Linked DNA regions of Homo sapiens: region 1 is linked to region 2. Evidence: promoter capture Hi-C in 16 types of primary human blood cells and fetal thymus (Javierre and others, 2016). All regions are on one chromosome and are shown on one strand. The core of a region is centred on a gene start or on the middle of the fragment in contact, and the rest is flanking DNA. Distances in the headings are between cores, read along the strand shown. Region 1 has its middle 6.8 kb from the start of TOPBP1. Region 2 holds the start of ACAD11 (acyl-CoA dehydrogenase family member 11).

The links. Contacts are between HindIII fragments. The CHiCAGO score rates a contact against its expected background, and 5 or more counts as called.
Region 1: a contact is called between a fragment that was not itself captured here and the fragment with the promoter of ACAD11 in region 2, in 4 of 17 cell types (non-activated CD4 T cells, fetal thymus, total CD4 T cells and 1 more). The highest score is 7.0, in non-activated CD4 T cells.

Annotation. Positions count from the first base shown.
Region 1 is chr3:133,666,623-133,670,876 of GRCh38, forward strand. It overlaps a transcript of TF not described here. Among named protein-coding and RNA genes, the nearest start is that of TOPBP1, 6.8 kb to the left of the region's middle. RefSeq lists an enhancer at 3,881-4,025 and a cis regulatory region at 3,947-3,960. The HindIII fragment of the contact is 3,319 bases long and covers 1,055-4,254 here.
Region 2 is chr3:132,657,608-132,662,147 of GRCh38, forward strand. It overlaps ACAD11 (acyl-CoA dehydrogenase family member 11), which reads right to left and starts at 2,202. Exons shown (of 20, transcript NM_032169.5): 1 at 1,996-2,202. The coding sequence starts at 2,144. UBA5 (ubiquitin like modifier activating enzyme 5) reads left to right here and starts at 2,722. Exons shown (of 12, transcript NM_024818.6): 1 at 2,722-3,091. The coding sequence starts at 2,931. The region is part of intron 26 of NPHP3-ACAD11 (NPHP3-ACAD11 readthrough (NMD candidate)); the gene reads right to left. RefSeq lists enhancers at 2,504-3,042, 2,578-2,667, 3,038-3,317. The HindIII fragment of the contact is 2,892 bases long and covers 716-3,607 here.

The DNA.
Region 1 (4,254 bases), core at 1,464-3,963, 1.0 Mb after region 2:
ATAGAATGTCATTAGCACATTCTATTCTATGTGGGTTGCTACTGGCTGCATTTAATTAGATAAGCAAAAGACAAGCTCAGGGAATTGGCCTGTTTGCAAACAAAAATAAAGAGAATTTAAAAATTCAGGCCTGGCCAGGCATGGTGGCTCATGCCTGTAATCCCAGCATTTTGGGAGGCTGAGGCAGGTAGATCATGAGGTCAGAAGATCGAGACCATCCTGGCTAACACAGTGAAACCTCGTCTCTACTAAAAATACAAAAAATTAGCCAGGCGTGGTGGCGGGCGCCTGTAGTCCCAGCTACTCGGGAGGCTGAGGCAGGACAATGGCGTGAACCTGGGAGGTGGAGCTTGCAGTGAGCTGAGATCGTGCCACTGCACTCCAACCTGGGCAGCAGAGCGAGACACTGTCTCAGAAAAAGAAAAAAAAAAAAATCCAGGCCGGATGCAGTGGCTCACACCTGTAATCCTAGCACTTTGGAAGGCTGAGGCAGGAGAATTGCTTGAGGCCAAGAATTCAAGACCAGCTTGGGCGACACAGCCAGATCTTGTCTCTAAAAAAAAGTTTTGTTGTTTTTTTTTAAAATTAACTGAGTGTGGAGGACACACACCTGTAGTCCCAGGTACTGGGAGGCTGAGGTGGGAGGATTGCTTGAGCCCAGGAGTTTGAGGTTACAGTGAGCTATGATCTCACTATTGCACTCTAGCCTGAGTGACAGAGCAAGACTCTGACTCAAAAAAAAAAAAAAAAACCCAAGTATGTGAGATTTTGCAAGGTTGGAAAAGCTGACTTCATCTGTGTCCTAAAAACAAGAGATAAACCTGAGAAAGGTTTTGAGCAACAAATGTCCATTACAACCCGACCATGTGGAAAAGATCTAGTTAAAGAATATGGTCCTGTCACCCAAGCTAGGTAGGCACCATCAACTGAGAGAGAGAGAGAGAGGTATGGGGCCAAAGATAGCAATCAGGTTTGAAAATTATGTCTAGGAAAGAACTAGGGAGGGGACTACTTCTGTAGAAGAACAGCTCTGCCATGACTTCCTCTATTGATAAGCTTACACATATCAATAGAGGCAAAGGCTTGAATTGCAACTTATCTGAGCCCTGGCACAACACCTTGTCATCCTTAAGGGAGGTGTCTAAGGAGCTACTAGAAAGGCATCTCTCACTCACCTTTCTATCTCTCCTAAGAGGCTGTCATGACATAGTTTCTCATCACCTCCCAGGTTTTGATGAGATATGGGGCTTTCTGCCCCACTCCCCTCATGATAGGCCTGCAGAATATAAAAGCACTAGCTGCCATCTAGATTTGACTCCTTAGTAATAGAGTATCCTACAACTCGCATTGCAATCATCAGACCCAGGGAGAAGACATCTTTCACTTATTCTTCTCTGTTGCTATCTATGGAAGTAATAAACCATCTAAATCTAAAAATGTCTCAAGTATGTTCACTGGTGGAATCAGGCCCTACCCTTGACCTTGTTTTGTATGTGTGAGGTTGACAATTACCACGTGAAACTGACTGGAACCAAATAGATCTGAAGGTTACGAACATTTTGAGATAATTGCTTTCTGAACCCAACCAGAAACCTGGAGTATTCAGACTTTGATTTAATCCTCAAATTTTCGCAGCACAAGTAGGTGGAAAGTCATACAGCCCCAAGGAGCACAAACTCCTCAGTATTCAGATATGGATAGAGAGGGTAATAGAAAATGAAGATCCTCCCAGAAGGAGGTACCAGGGATCCTGGAGAGCAACGAGCAAAGGAGCTCCTGTCACAGAACAGAATCTGATCTAATCAGAACCCCCAATCGAGAGCCTCCTAGTGCCTGCCCAACTTCAAAATTGATACTGACCAATGATGGCTATGGGTCTCCACTCCTCCCTTTTCTGAAAGGGAGTTTTATTGTTGTTATTCTGTTTGTGCCTCCCCATTCCCCAGTGTGTAGCAGATGTGTGCTTGGGCAGGGAGGGAAAAAAACATGTCTGGATTCTGGCAGAGACCATGTAGAAACCCTTAGTGTCCCACCCATACCCCCTCACCCTTAGCACTCATGCACATTAGGAAACTTCCAGCTGCCAGCATCTGTGTTCATTGCATGAAGGCATTCTCTGGCACCAGGAATCTGCTCTGCCACCTGCACAGTAGGCCAGAGGGCTAGAGGATTTATGACCTATAGGGAAAAAAACCCCTTAAATGATGGCTGACAGGAGTTGGTGCACAAAAACCCTTGTTTGCATGTCCCGTGGATGGGACATCCACTCTGACTCTCATAGTTTCCTCAGGGGAATTAAGTCCCAGTGTCCACAGTGGCATCTGACTTGTTAACACATTCTTTGGATGCCTTTCTCCCTGTCTCACATCTCTATTTTCTTTTTTCTTTTTTTTTCTGAGACGGAGTTTTGCTCTGTTGTCCAGGGTGGAGTGCAATGGCGCGATCTCAGTTCACTGCAACCTCCGCCTCCCGGGTTCAAGCGATTTTCTTGCCTTGACCTCCCGAGTAGCTGGGATTACAGGTGCCTGCGACCACACCTGGCTAATTTTTTGTATTTTTAGTAGAGACGGGGTTTCACTATATTGGCCAGGCTGGTCTCAAACTCCTGACCTCAGGCGATCCACCCACCTAGGCCTCCCAAAGTGCTGGGATTGCAAGCATAAGCCACCGTGCCCAGCCACATCTCTACTGTCTTGCCTGTGTTTCTTTACTTGTCAAATAAAACATCTGAGAAGGCTTGTCTAAAAGTCTGTTTTCTGGGTCTGCTCAAACTAAGACAAAAGACCCCAGACATGTGCTCCCCTTTCATAGTGTTTTGCTGTTGCTGAGAAGTAGTTTCCTAGCCAGAGACTATGGTTCCCATCCTCTTTACAATTGGTGGGGTCATGGGACTGAGTTATGGCCAATAGAATATAGGTAGAAGTGATGTTTGTCACATCCGAGCTTGATCCAAGGAAATTTCTTGCACTACCTTCCACGCTCTTCCTTATTCTGTCATTTGAATATCAACACACAGAGCAATCTTGGAAGCCATGTGTTGAAAATGGCAGAACCTCTCTCAGCCTGGATCTCTGAATGACTGAATGGAGCTATGAAAGTGAACTCCCCACTCCCACCCTAACAAATCACCACGATTGCTGCCAGATGGGCTTTATGTTACTAAGAGGTCAACTCCTATTGTGTTAAACCATTAAGATTTTGGAGCTTTGCTATTATAGCAGTTAGTGCTATTTGTGAGACACTATTTTCCAACCTTATATTAGAATGTTGGGCAAGAAAATTTGATCTCTGCCCTCATAGACCCTATTTCCTTTCAAATGTATGAATAAGTGAAGGGAGAGCCAGGACAGTTAAATCCAACCAATTCTGAACTTGGAAACAGTTTAAACAAACATGGTGCCCCATGCCGTTATTACTTCAAGATGCCTTGGAAAGGGGAAAGTGTGAAATTGCTCCAGAGACAAATGTCAGAGGCCACATGAGAAACAGCATGGACTATGGAAGCAGGCTGCCTAGTTTGAATGCCAGCTTGGACACCTACTAGCTACCTGACCTTGGGCAAGTCACTGGTTAACCTTTCTGTGCTTCACTGTCTCTCTGTACAAAAAGAGGATGGCAATAGCCTTATGGGGTTACTATCATTTAACATTTGGGAAGCACTTAGTACAATGCCTGGTACACACTAATAAATCTATAAATCCCAAGTTTTCCAAAGACCATCTTTGCCGTGAAGTTTTAAAACTGTTTTCCACCATACAAGCATCTAACCTTCTGCTTTGCTATTTATGAGAGCCTGTACCAAAGCACAGAAATGACTTTAGCACTTTGGATGTCCTATCTTTGCAATATCACTTTGTCCCAGTACACACGAAGTTTTCAGAGTTTGATCTAATCTAGGGTCGGGGGCACAGTGGCTGCTATTGGATTTAGGCTGTGTTAGTTTTAGGTGAATAATTAACCTTAGAAGGAATGATCACCTCTGGACTTTATTTGGTTTTTGTCCATAGGCCTGCATAGGAGATTGCTCAACCCACTTTTGAGACATTTGTGTGCATTTATTGATCTGTTTGATTTTTTGAGCCCAATACTATAGCAGACAGTATTTTCCAACCTTGTGTTAGAATGTTGGACAAGAAAAAAGTGATCTCTGCGCTCATAGATCCTATTTCCTTTCAAATGTATGAGTAAGTGAAGGGAGAGCCAGGACAGTTAAAGATGAACCACTCGGCACATGGCCAGGGGGAATCTGGCTTT
Region 2 (4,540 bases), core at 952-3,451:
TATCATTTCTCTACAAAGGTATTGCACATCTTTTACTTAGGTAATTTATATTTTTGATGCTCCTGTAAGTTTTTGAAAATTACATTTTAACTGTTGCTAAAGTAGAGAAATGCAGTTGATTTCTGTACACTGAACTTTGATAGTCTTTTACTGTCTATGTAGATTATTGGCTCTTTAATCCATGAATCACTTAATTTATAAACATGTATTTGTTAGCTATCTTCTGTTAAACTTTTGGTATTAAAAAAACACATATTCCTTTTTTTTTTTTTTTTTTTTGAGTCTCACTCTGTCACCTAGGCTGGAGCATGGTGGTGCAATCTTGGCTCACTGCAACCTCCCTCTCCTGGTTCAAGCGATTCTCCTGCCTCAGCATCCCAAGTAGCTGGGACTACAGGCACGTGCCACCACGCCCGGCTAATTTTTGTATCTTTAGTAGAGATGGGGGTTTCACCATGTTGGCCAGGCTGGTCTTGAACTCCTGACCTCAAGTGATCCACGTGCCTCGGCCTCCCAAAGTGCTGGGATTACAAGTGTGAGTCACTGCACCTGGCCAAAACACACATTTTCAAAATATAAAGATTGATTCTTTTGAGTTTCTGAGACTTCCTTCATGGCCTATGTGTTTTCAATTTTTATAAACTTTTTCATGTGTCCTAGAAATGAATGTGTGTTCTCTGTGGGATCCAGAGTTCCATATATATTTATTAAACCAAGCTTATACAACATTTCTGGAAGCAATTTTTATACCACAACTAATTTACAACTAATTTCATTTTTTGAACACGGTTATGGTTTAACATTCAGCTTGGTTCAGAATTAAGTATCTTTCAGTTATGTACCTCTTCAACACTCCTACAATATGAACGTTACTATCTCCTTTTTGCCAAAGCAGGACTAGATGTTCAAAGGGTAACTTGTCCAAATTCCACAGCAATTGAAATAGTTGAAATTTGAACTTTGATCTGTTTCAGTTTGTTACAACACAAGGCTTCTAGCCTAGAAATCTCAGCTATTCTTTATTCCACCTTTCCCTTCATCTTCCAATATCTATTGGGACATGGGACCTTTAAATTCTACACCCTAAAATGTTCCCTGATCCATCTCATTTATTATTATTTTCATTTTCACCAAAATCAGTAGTCAAAGAATATAAATGCTAGTGATAAAATACCACTAGCACACTATGTTGTTGCAATTTTTACGCCCTTTCACCTATATTACGGTATTTCATTTCATTAATAAGACTAATCAAAATAGGTATTACAACTTAGGAAACTAGTTCTCAGAGTGTTTATGTAACATATTTAAACTCCCAGACAGCAAGTGACAGATCCAGTTTTCTGAATGATAGGACTCTTTCTGTAGCCCTGTATTAGTAACAATGTTATTTTTAGAATAAAGTTTTAAGAATGTATTATCTATTGTAAAACATCAGACTAAAGCCAGATTCCCGGTGGGGAACGCTACTCTCAGGATCCTCTCACTCAGTTCCATTACCTCACTTCAAAAAACCTGAGGCCCAAAGTGGTGCTGTGACCTCCTAAGTGGAAAAGCTAGTACTCGAATTCGGATCCTCCATCTGGTGTCATTAACTCAGCCTCCCGGAATACGGCCAATCAAACGGAATTACACCAGCTTCTCAGAAAAAGATCTAATGGCTGTATCACAAAAGAAGGCATCTATTTCTCAGAATTTGTAGCCTTAATTGCCTTGGTGAATCCTCAAGGGACATAAATCCATCCTTTAACAAAGATTCCTTTGGATAGTAGAATGGTGAACGTTATTGCGCTTCCATTACCGCCCTCCAATTGGGAAGCCCCCAGCATCGAATTCGGAGGGCCGGCAATAGCAGCTCATGCCTGTAGGGTGCGTCCACTGACTGCAGGAAAAGCAATCAGGGTGGGAGAAACTTAGGAAACCACCCAGGGCCAAAGGAAGGAAAACTCAATGTACAAATTTTTTTCCGCTGGAGGCAAAGGCTGACATCCATACCTGTACTGGGCAATGGTCAGCGTAGCCTCACGTTCGGCCCCAAAGCCAGACAAGTGCTGGTTTAGGTAGGCCTCCAGGGACTTGCTGTCGAACTTGTGCTGGGGCAGCACTTCGGCCAAATCGGACTCGCCAGTAGCACCTGGCTTCATGATCACCCCCGCAGGCCACAGCAACGCGGCATCCACAGGTCTCGAGTGCCGAAGTCCTTCAGGATTGGGGCAACGTCCCCTCTAGAGCATGGGCCGAGGCCGGGGTGGGGTCTGGCTCCAGCCAACCGCACACAGCCTACGCGCCGTTGCTGAGCAACGCTTGCCCGCTGAATCCCGAGGTTTTAGCTCTAGTCAAGTGCCAAAAGAGCCCAATGTGTGTTCGGGTTTCAATTCTCCAGTCAGCGTCAGAGTTGGAGGCCTCAATTTTAAAGAAGGCAAAGCCATGGTCATCGTTGCGGGTAAGGAACAACGCAGAAGCCTCTTCCACCCCCAAATTTAATGCAACAGCAGGCGGAAGACCTGCAGGGTCCCGTTCAGAAAAAGGGCCGTCAGACTGTCGAGCCTAAGAATAAAAAGACCCTGTTTCTCTTAGATACCCGGTTAGCAAGGCAACATCGCTGGCCTCCTGCCCTGGACACTTATCACCCCGGTGCTGCTGCGGCCGGGTTTAGCCGGCCCAGCGAGGAAGGAAGCCGAAAGAGCCAGGTTTTTGATGAGGGGGAGCGATGTCTGCGACGCACCGGAAGCGGCTCCGAGGAAGGCCTGTGGGAGTCTCGGAGACGTGTCTGTCTGTGAGGCGCTGGGTGCACGTCCCCAGGGCTCTGGGCTAGGAAGGCAGCGGCGAGGTGCCTCCCCACGTACCCCTCGCGGGCCCAGCCGAGCAACGTGGGGCGAAGGCGGCGGCGAAGGCCCGGGCTGGGAGCGTTGGCGGCCGGAGTCCCAGCCATGGCGGAGTCTGTGGAGCGCCTGCAGCAGCGGGTCCAGGAGCTGGAGCGGGAACTTGCCCAGGAGAGGAGTCTGCAGGTCCCGAGGAGCGGCGACGGAGGGGGCGGCCGGGTCCGCATCGAGAAGATGAGCTCAGAGGTGGTGGATTCGAATCCCTACAGGTAACCTGCGTCGCCGGTCGGAGGCAGGCGCGGGGGACGAGGTCAGGCTCCGTGAGGTCAGAAGTGAGGCGCTTCCCACGTCCCGCTCATGGGGACGCCCGCCACCCTTTTCTTGGTCTGCGAATCCTGTTCCCAAATGGGCAAGGCCACATCTTAGTACTGATCGGAAGATATTCTTTCTCTTTTTTAAAAACCTCCAGTGAGTCAGCCATATGGTGCTGCTCCTGTGCCTGCTGAGGACGTGTGTCCAGTTTCCTATCACCCTTGCCTCTTAATTAGTCCGCCTCGCTGTGTATAAGACTGATAGTAAGAACTTTCAGAAGATGAGATCAAATATTAAACCTGCTAAGGTAAACTTTGAGTTTCATTAAAGGCTTATCAATGCATCTTAAATGGGGTCGGGGCGGGGGAGAGCGGGGTTAGCTCTATTCTGAGATATTCGGGTGCTCCTTAACATCTCAAACCATTCGACATTACCAAGACTGCCCAGGCCTCTCTTTTCTTCTTTCCTAACAAAGCTTATCAATTCAGCAGATGGAATATAGTGCAATGGTTAAGGGTAAGGACTCTACCGCCAGACTGATTGCAATTCAAATCTAACTACTCTCTTCGTAACTGCCTAACCTTTGGCAAGTTGTGAAACTTTCCGCTTCAGCTTCTCACCTGTACAATGAAGATAATAGTAATATCTATCTCTGTCATAGTTGTGGGGATTGAAAAAATCAGTATGTATAAAGGTCTTAGAGTAGCGCTTGTACATGGCAAGCCTTATACAAGATTTTATTGCTAGGTGCATTTAGTAGCAAGCAGTTATTGAGCTTTCACTGTGTAAGCACTTTACATGCATTGTCTCCTCCCACCAAAACCCTATGAGATTGCTACTATTTTACCCCCATTATATAAGTGAGAAAATTGAGGCTTAGAGAGCCACCTCAGGTTCATGCCTTGGTAGTAAATAATAAGGCCTGTCTTGCATTAGATTTGTCTTAATGTAAAATTCTCATGAACCGTCTCCCCAGTAAAAACAATTAAGTCGTGTAGCTAAAAATTGTATAGTGTTAAAGTAGATAAGGAAGATTTTATTGTTGCTTTTTTCCTTTAAAGAGCATAACAGTTTTGATTTTTAAAAAAGGTTTTAGTTTGTGATATATAAAGCCGCAGTAGAAGTCTTAGGGTGCACTGTTTTAACTGTGTTGCCAAATATGAACGGTTAATGGTCCAGAATTTTTAGAGATTAAATAAGCATGAACTGACATCTCTAATCAGAATAAGTGGAAACTATTTGACATTTTTAAAACATTTTAAAATTTTACAAATGAAGACTTTGAAATTTTCCCTCCAGAATGAAAAGCAGAGGAATATGGGTCATGAATTTAAGTTGTCTTTCAGACATTATTTAATATGAGATGATCCCTTGACATTGTAATTATAACAAAACTTTCAGAACTC